2 separate regions of the Homo sapiens genome follow, and region 1 is linked to region 2. Evidence: promoter capture Hi-C in 16 types of primary human blood cells and fetal thymus (Javierre and others, 2016). All regions are on one chromosome and are shown on one strand. The core of a region is centred on a gene start or on the middle of the fragment in contact, and the rest is flanking DNA. Distances in the headings are between cores, read along the strand shown.

Evidence for each region. Contacts are between HindIII fragments. The CHiCAGO score rates a contact against its expected background, and 5 or more counts as called.
Region 1: the fragment with the promoter of CTH here is called in contact with the fragment with the promoter of MIGA1 in region 2 in 1 of 17 cell types (total B cells); the score reaches 8.3 in total B cells.

What each region holds. Positions count from the first base shown.
Region 1 is chr1:70,408,179-70,412,517 of GRCh38, forward strand. It overlaps CTH (cystathionine gamma-lyase), which reads left to right and starts at 3,090. Exons shown (of 12, transcript NM_001902.6): 1 at 3,090-3,405. The coding sequence starts at 3,238. RefSeq lists an enhancer at 2,661-2,920 and a silencer at 2,981-3,130. The HindIII fragment of the contact is 3,560 bases long and covers 1,892-4,339 here.
Region 2 is chr1:77,777,505-77,781,731 of GRCh38, forward strand. It overlaps MIGA1 (mitoguardin 1), which reads left to right and starts at 2,145. Exons shown (of 16, transcript NM_001416120.1): 1 at 2,145-2,232. It also overlaps the pseudogene RNA5SP21. RefSeq lists an enhancer at 2,032-2,121. The HindIII fragment of the contact is 6,952 bases long and covers 1-4,227 here.

The DNA.
Region 1 (4,339 bases), core at 1,840-4,339, 7.4 Mb before region 2:
CTGCCTTTAATGAGAATAGTAGAGGTCTTTGTGCATAAACACAAGAAGTACAGTGCTATTTTCATAGTGTTTAAGAAGTACTTATTATAAAATAATGTACTCTGTGTTTTATAAAAGGATCAAACAGTAAAGAAATATAAAAAATGAGAAGTTTCCCATTTCCTCTAAAATATCTGCTTTTGCTGAATCTCCTTCCCAAGAAGAATTAATAATTCTTCTGTAAGTGTTATGATATTTTGTTGTATGCAACATAATTTATATGAAAAATTAGCACACACCTCAAACTATATACCATTTATTGGATTTAAAGTGGCTATCATTTAATCATTTAAAAAGCTTTTTTTCTAAATACAGTTGTCTTTCTAAAATGTTTAAATTAGGGTTTTTGGTAGTATTATTATTGTTGAAAAGGTAATATGTGCCCATGATATAAAACTTGAACACAAAAGAGAATAAAATGTAAAGAAAATCACCTTTCCACTGCAGATCCATAGTCTCTATGACCAGAAGGATTTTTATACATATGAAATCATAAATATCTGTCTGAAAATAATGCAACATAGTATATATTCTTTTGAAAAAGTGGAAGCATGATGTATACGTTACTTTGCTTTGCTGTCTTAGATATTAGAGATCAATAGGCCAGGTGTGGTGGCTCATGCCTGTAATACCAGCACTTTGGGAGGCCAAGGCTGGTGGATCACTTGAGGCAAGGAGTTCGAGGCCAGCCTGGCCAACATGGTGAAACCCATCTCTACTAAAAATACAAAAATTAGCCAGACATGGTGGCTGCATCTGTAGTCCCAGCTACTTGGGAGGCTGAGGCAGAAGAATCTCTTGAAACCTGGAGGCAGAGGTTGCAGTGATTCGAAATGGCACCACTGCACTCCAGCCTGGGTAACAGAGCGAGACTCTGACATACCAGCACATCTCAATCTCTTCCTGCTTCTTGGCCATACTGTAGCCATCACAGAGTAGTATCATAACCAGTTAACCAGTCTTTTAAGAATGAATAATTAAGCCATTTTTCACTCTTTTGCTATTAAAAATAGTAACGTAGGTTTAAAAAGCATCCTTGCTCATCTCTGTACACATATTAAGAATATATCTAAAGGATAAATTCCTGCAAGTAAAATTTTCTACAAAAGAAATTGCTGAGTCATAGAAAGGGGATATTTTAAATCCTTGATACATATTAAGCTGCATCCAATAAAGTTTTCTCAGTTTAAGAGAGTAAAAAAGGCCTGATTTATAGCATTTGTATTGGGTGCTATCTTTTTTTTTTTTTTTTTTGAGATGGAGTCTCACTCTGTGGCCCAGGCTGTAGTGCAGTGACATGATCTCGGCTCACTGCAACCTCCGCCTCCTGGGTTCAAGCGATTCTCCTGTCTCAGGCTCCCAAGGAGCTGGGATTACAGGTGTGCACCACTACGCCCAGCTAAGTTTTGTGTTTTTTGTAGAGATGGGGTTTCACCCTGCTGGCCAGGCTGGTCTCGAACTCTTGACTTCAGGTGATTCGCCCACCTCGGCCTCCCAAAGTGCTGGGATTAATAGGCGTTAGCCAATGCACCCAGCCTAGTGCTGTCTTCTGAATGATTCTTTATTACAGTACACTAAATAAAATGTCTGTATTTATGCAACTCAGGGTTTGTCAGCAAATATTAGGAGGTAAAACTAATTGGAACTGTTTTAGACCCTTTTGGCCCCTAAATGCCATATCATATTACACAAAAATACCCACCTATAGTTATACATAAATATTGAGGTGAGTTGCAGTTGATGTTATATTTTTAAAAGAAAAATATTAATTAAATATGTATTAATATACATTAGTGTTTTGAAGTCTATCCATTTTTTCCCCCAGCCATACAAAGTTTGGTAGGATTCTAAAAGCTTGTAGGCCCTCAAGCACCACTCCTCTAGTGCTTAATGGGTTAAATGTCCCTAAAGCTAATTTGAAAAGCAAATTGCCTCATTCTTTCTCTTCATATCTTTCTTTCAAACTGTAAATTTTAAGAGCTGTTTATTCCTTATTCTCCTTGTTCTTAATTTGTTTAATAAAGTTTTAGATCTTTAGCGAATATTTTGCAACAACAGAAATATCCCCAAATTTCCTGGTGCTAGAAAACAGCCACAATAGTAAGTAGGTCAAGTCTGTATTGCTTAGGGAACAGGGAGATTTTTGTTTTAAAGCAGTGATTCTTCTGAGAGTAGGGCTCTGGGCGCAGGTGAGTGGTAAACAATCCTTTTTCCTGCAGGGATGTTGCTGTTGTGTAAAAGCAAAAGCATTTTGTGTAAGGATGTTAGGCTCCAGTAAGTATTTCAAAGCCACATTATCTTTCTCATTAGGGGGAGTTTCTCTCTGTACTTTAAAAGAAGATAATGATGCTTGAAAAAGCTCAAGATTGACTAACTTTTAGGAAGCTGCCAGAGTTGTGCATAGACGTCCTCACTACAGTAGCTTCGTTATGTCTTACGAACAATTTAACCTTCACTTCTAGTCATCGTTTCGTCATCGTAAGCACTGGGTCATTACAGAGTTCAGTGTACCTAAAACGCAAGCTGTGACTGATGAGAATCCAAGCTGCAAACTGGGCGGCTTGGGCAACTGTTTTCTTAACCACCCTCCACGTTGTGGCTTACGTCTTTTAGCACCGCCCTCAGGGCAAAGGATGGTGGTCAGAGGTAACTACCACAGTAAAAGAAGGCTATTTATGTGGTCTGTTTACAGTTACCCGGTTTCAACACTAAGCCAGCTTTCCGCCACGTCTCGGGCGAACCTCCGGCCTGAGGTCACAGAGACGCCCGGGTGGCTCTCAGGAGCCAGCATGGCAGCCTCCTCAGGACGGGTACTCAGGAATTTCGCCCGCAGGGACTAACACCACTTGGACCCAGGGACTCCAGCTTCACTCCGCTTTGTGCACTGGGTGGGGCGGTCGCGGTGACGTTTCAGGCAACGCCTCTGCTGTCAGCCAATAAGGAGCGGGAGACGCGTCGGGCCTGCGCTCAATGGGCCGCGCTGGTCCCGCCCCACTGTGATCGTGAGACTGCAGACCCGCTAATAAAATCCACCCCAACAATCGCTGTGTGCCGCTTTAGTGCGCTCGCCGTCGGCTCTACCTGCGTGCTTTAGCTCCTTCTCGCCTGATCCTTCTGTCTCTCCCAACCCCGGACACCCGGCTTCGACTGGTTATATCTTCGGTGTTCTTTTCCTCTCTTCTTCTTTCGCGGTTCAGCATGCAGGAAAAAGACGCCTCCTCACAAGGTTTCCTGCCACACTTCCAACATTTCGCCACGCAGGCGATCCATGTGGGCCAGGATCCAGAGCAATGGACCTCCAGGGCTGTAGTGCCCCCCATCTCACTGTCCACCACGTTCAAGCAAGGGGCGCCTGGCCAGCACTCGGTGAGCTGGGTCTGTCTGGGGCTGTCCACAGTTGGGCGGTAAAAGAGATACGGCTTATGAATTTGAAAGGCATGTAAGTAATTTATAATATGACTTATAAATTAGGAAGGCAACCGAAAGATGTTTCTACACTGTAATTCTTGCAGCACAGCTTTGTATCGGATGGTCCAGTGATCGTATTTCTTTTGATAAGCAGGACTGGAAGGAGCCGTTTGTCCAGCTTGCCATTTAGATTTGGCCTGAAATTCAGGTGATTTTGACAAATTTGCAATTAAAAATCGAAGGTCATAACTTTTTTGAGTTACCTTTAGCAGCATAAATTTTAAAGATGTAGTACGGAGTCAGCTTAAAAAATATTAAGGGTCTGATAACTTGACTAGAATTAAGATTGTTTCCAGTAGCTGTATGAATAGTTATTGAGTACCTACTATATGCCAAATACGTGCTCGTATATATCATGTGTATTACATGTATTGTCTCATCTAATCCTAACAACAACCCTAGTCTGAACCGAATTCTCATTTTTTCCCAATAAAGAAGCTGAGATTTAGGGAGTTAAGTAACTAGCCTTAGACTAGTAAGTATTGGAGATGGAATTCAAACTTTAGAAACTTGAGGTTGCTTTAGGAACCAACTCCTAGGCACTCAGCTACACTATGCTATCTCTAATAATGCTAGTAACAATTTAGCCTATTGCGTCATTTAAGCACTGTGGCTTAGTGATTAAGAACACAACTCATGACCGGGTGCAGTGGCTTACGCCTGTAATCCCAGCACTTTGGGAGGCTGAGGCGGGTGGATCACCTGAGGACAGGAGTTCGAGCCCAGCCTGGCCAACATGGTGAAACCCCATCTCTACTAAAAATAAATAAATTAGCTGGGCATGGTGGCGGGTAATCTCAGCTACTCGGGAAGCTGAGGCAGGAGAATCGCT
Region 2 (4,227 bases), core at 895-3,394:
GGAGACTTGTTTGGTGGGGAAAAACCTCCACACATTTGGAGTCAGAAGTGTTGAAACTACAGAAAAATAGCTTTGTGTTTCTTTTCCTTTAACAATGCATCTAGTAAGTGGCCAAGAAAGGATTCAAACCCAGGCAGTCTGACTTCACAGTTTTGTTTTGATATTATGCAGATAGGATCCCCTAAATTCATTAATGGTTGCTGTAGCATGTATTGCAGTACTTGTACAGAAGAAACAACTGGTAGTACTCCATGAACTCCATTCTCTGGTTTAGTGAGCATTACACGATGGCTTGGTTATCTGGGGGAGGTACTGGCCTTCAGAATTAATCCAGGCTCCAATTTTTTTTTCCTTGTCTCCAATATCAGAAGACATTGAGTCCCCTGTCCTTCTGGTTTAAACCACTACTTGTTTGGTTTTCTTTTACTTGTAGCGAATATGTTAACTAATATATCCAATAATGGCTAAGATTGAGTGCAGTACTCTGCCAAACCAGAAGAAGGGAGGCTTACAGCAAATTACATTTGGTTTATAAACATAAATTAAATGTGATATTTCTATTTTATATATTTTATTATTATTTTGTAGAAATGAGGGTCTTGCTATTGCCCAGGCTAATCTCGAACTTCTTACCTCAAGGGATCCTCCCTCATCGGCCCCACAAAGTGTTGGGATTACAGATGTGAGCCACCTCACTTGGCCTAAATGTGACATATCTTATTCTCATGCTAAAGAATAAACTCTGTACCCACCGTGTAATACTATTTTTCTCATAATGTTTATTGTGGAATTAAGGAGATAATATGGTCTCAGGAAAGTTGTGTTGAGTGGTAGTCATCATCATTACTGCTATTCTCATTACGTTGAATGTTTGGAAGCTGTGGGAAATGGGAAAGAGGAGGAAATTGGGAAAATAAATGAAAATAGCCTTACAAATTTCAGGTTCTTCAAGTCTCAAGAGCTCCATTTACCCTATAAGTGCAAAATATTTTCACATAAAACCCAGTCTGTGGATCGTTAGTTATTATTAATCTAATAATATCATAAATTGGTACTACTATTCTATTTTCCATTTGGTTAAATGGGAATTTTGAAAACAGAATTATTTTGGCTTTTCACCACAAATATGCTCAGCAACTGGAATTCTTAAATCTGCAGTTTTTTTGTTTTGTTTTGTTTTGTTTTGTTTTTTGTTTTGAGACAGAGTCTCACTCTAGTCACCCAGGTTGGGGTGCAGTAGCACTATCTGGGCTCACACAACCTCCGCCTCCCGGGTTCAAGCGATTTTCCTGCCTCAGCCTCCCGAGTAGCTGGGATTACAGGCAGGTGCCTGGCTAATTTTTGTACTTTTAGTAGAGATGGGGTTTCGCCATGTTGGCCAGGCTGGTCTTGAACTCCTGACCTCAAGTGATCTGCCCGCCTTGGCCCGCCAAAGTGCTGGGATTACAGGCTTCAGCCACCGTGCCCCGCCTAAATCTGCAGTTCTGATGGAATGTTTTGACTGAAGACTGAACGTAGAAACAGTACCTTGGGTTTTGTTGTTGTTATTTTTTCCTAACCCGGCCCCCTATTAGTTTACTATGTATTAGAACCTGAGAGAGGTGACTACTCTGCCAATAAATTGCCACATTCAATATTCTTCGGTTGCCTAATTCAGTGGGAAACACAGAAAAAAAGGTAAAGAGGACATGAAATCAATAATAAATGCATCATCTATACCGGATTGGAATGCCTCTTAACACTCATTCATCTGAGGGCTGAGGGCCTGTGGTAGAAGTTCTTAATCTTGTTTTCAGGGTTTTGAAATTGTGTAACTTTTTTTTCTTTAATGTAATGAGCATGTGTATACACATTTTTTTTTTTCCAGGGGAAACCCTCCATAATTTTTACCAGATTGACAACCGTTCTAGATCCCCCGACAGGTTACGAACTACAATACTAGTTTTTTTTTTTTTTTTTTACCGGTTTGTAAAAGGATGCAATTCTTCGAATATAGTTTTTGCATCCACTTGACGAGGAAGGAGCCTCTACCCTAAACAAAAATGGCGGGAGCTGCTTCACACGTAGTCCCTCACGCAGAAAGCCTGGAAGGCCCCCTCCACTTTCTCTCCACCTTCGCACTCCTGACCCCGGAAGGACTCCGCCTTCTCCATGTCAGACTGCTGCTCAGCGCCAGGCATCAGCTGGGAAGCTGGCGTGGGCAGGCCAGCTGTACCTGGCCTGGAGCTCCAGGTACAGGGCCAGGGGCGGGGTGGGGTGGAGAGGCGGGCGGGAGGAAGCGGAGAGTTGAGCGGCCACGCAGTTGGGGCAGAGGCCTCGGGGCAGGGGTGGCGCGGACTCCATCGCTGGCGTTAGCTCTCGGAGTGCCAGGTGGAGCGGCGGAAAGCCAGAGGGTCTACGGCCGTGCCACCCTGAACACCCCCGACCTCGTCTCATCTCAGAAGCTAAGCAGGGTCGGGCCTGGTTAGTACTTGCATAGGAAAGCAGGAGGGTCCCCACGCCAGAGGGAGGCCTGCAAAGGAAGCGCGGAATTGGGATGGGCTCGCCACTGCTCTGAGCCAGAGGAAGGGTCTGGACGGCCGAGCTGGAGGGACCCCCTTTTCTGGTGTTCTTGGCAAAGAAAAAGGAAGACAGCAGAGGAGAGCTCCGCGAGGGGCTGCTGTGGGGTCGGGGGAGAGCGCGCTGGAGGTAGGGCAGCTGGTGAGGTCTCAGGTTCGGCTTGGATGCGGGTGGTTTTGAGCAGGGAGTGGCTTTTGGATGTGAAAGATTACTCTGCTTTGCAGGTGCTTTAAGAGAATAATTTAGCACGGGAGTATTGTGGTGTCAGGTCCTTCTGTAAAGTTGTTAAATTATCTATTTTCCAGAGGGAAGACTCAGCTTGTTTTTGCACAGGACTTTGAAACCTTTATTATTGTTGTTTTATTGTTGTTGTTATTGCAGCTAAACATGTTTGCTCTGTTCAAAGTGTCAGAGTTAGGTTATATAGATTTGTGCTTCACGTCAATTTTCTTTTTGATACTTCAGACTTTCCTTCCTGTTGGATTATAAAGTCAAAGTTGCAGGATAGAATTTTAAGATGTCTAAGAAACTGTTTATGACACTTATTTTTAATTCCCCAGTAGTTGGAATGTAGAGGAGCAAGTAATATCACACAGGACAATATTTTTGGTTATGTTTTATAGATTCCGTCTATAAATTTGAATAATCATGAAACCCCCTTCATGTTTATTTTTATTATGCTTCTGAAAGCAAATGAAATGACTAGTTTTTTGTTTTTTTTTCTTTAGTTTTTCAATGAATAATGATTAGGTTTGGAATCAACTTCCTCAGTAATATTAAATGAAAAAGAATGAGGTAGTTAGAATGCAAAAATAGAGGTTTGTCATAATATTTTTTCTTTTTTCTTTTTTTTTTTTTTTTGAGGCGGAGTCTGGCTCTGTCGCCCAGGCTGGAGTGCAATGGCGTGATCTCTGCTCACTGCAACCTCCGCCCCTAGGGTTCTAGAAGTTCTCCTACCTCAGCCTTCCGAGTAGCTGGGATTACAGGCGCCCGACATCACTCCTGGCTAATTTTTTTGTATTTGTAGTAGAGATGGGGTTTCGCTATATTGGCCAGGCTGGTCTTGAACTCTTGACCTCAACTGATCCACCCACCTCGGCCTCCCAAAATGCTGGGATTACAGGCGTGAGCCACCACGCCTGGCCGAGGTTTGTCATAATCTTTTAAGAATATCTCTGCAGCCAATTAAAGTGTTTGCTTTATTTTCTTTCTATTCTGCTTAAAAATTTGGAATGCTCCATTATAGGGAAAATTACTTTGGGTGAATTACTCAATACGTTTTTTAAATGCAGTAGCATAGATTGCTTAATGATCCAGAATCTAATTAGTAAAAATGTTTCTCAAAATAAAATGTGTTAATATTTAGGGAGGGGGAAGAATAAATGAGCTTCCCCCCACTTCCTTTTTACTGTAGTAATATTAAAAAAGTAATACATGTAGGCAGGTTTTTAAAAATCAAGTATTACAAACAGACTTATAAGGAAAAGCAGTCATTCTTTGCCCAGCTTTTCTATATCCCTTGTCTTATTCTCCAGAGGACCATTTTTCACTTTCTTAACTGTTCATGGTTTCCTCTGTACTTTTTAATCATATGTCTCTATCACAGGTTGTTGACTGAAATAAATGTATGTCAAGTAGAACTAACTATACTGAATCTAAAAGTTGTAC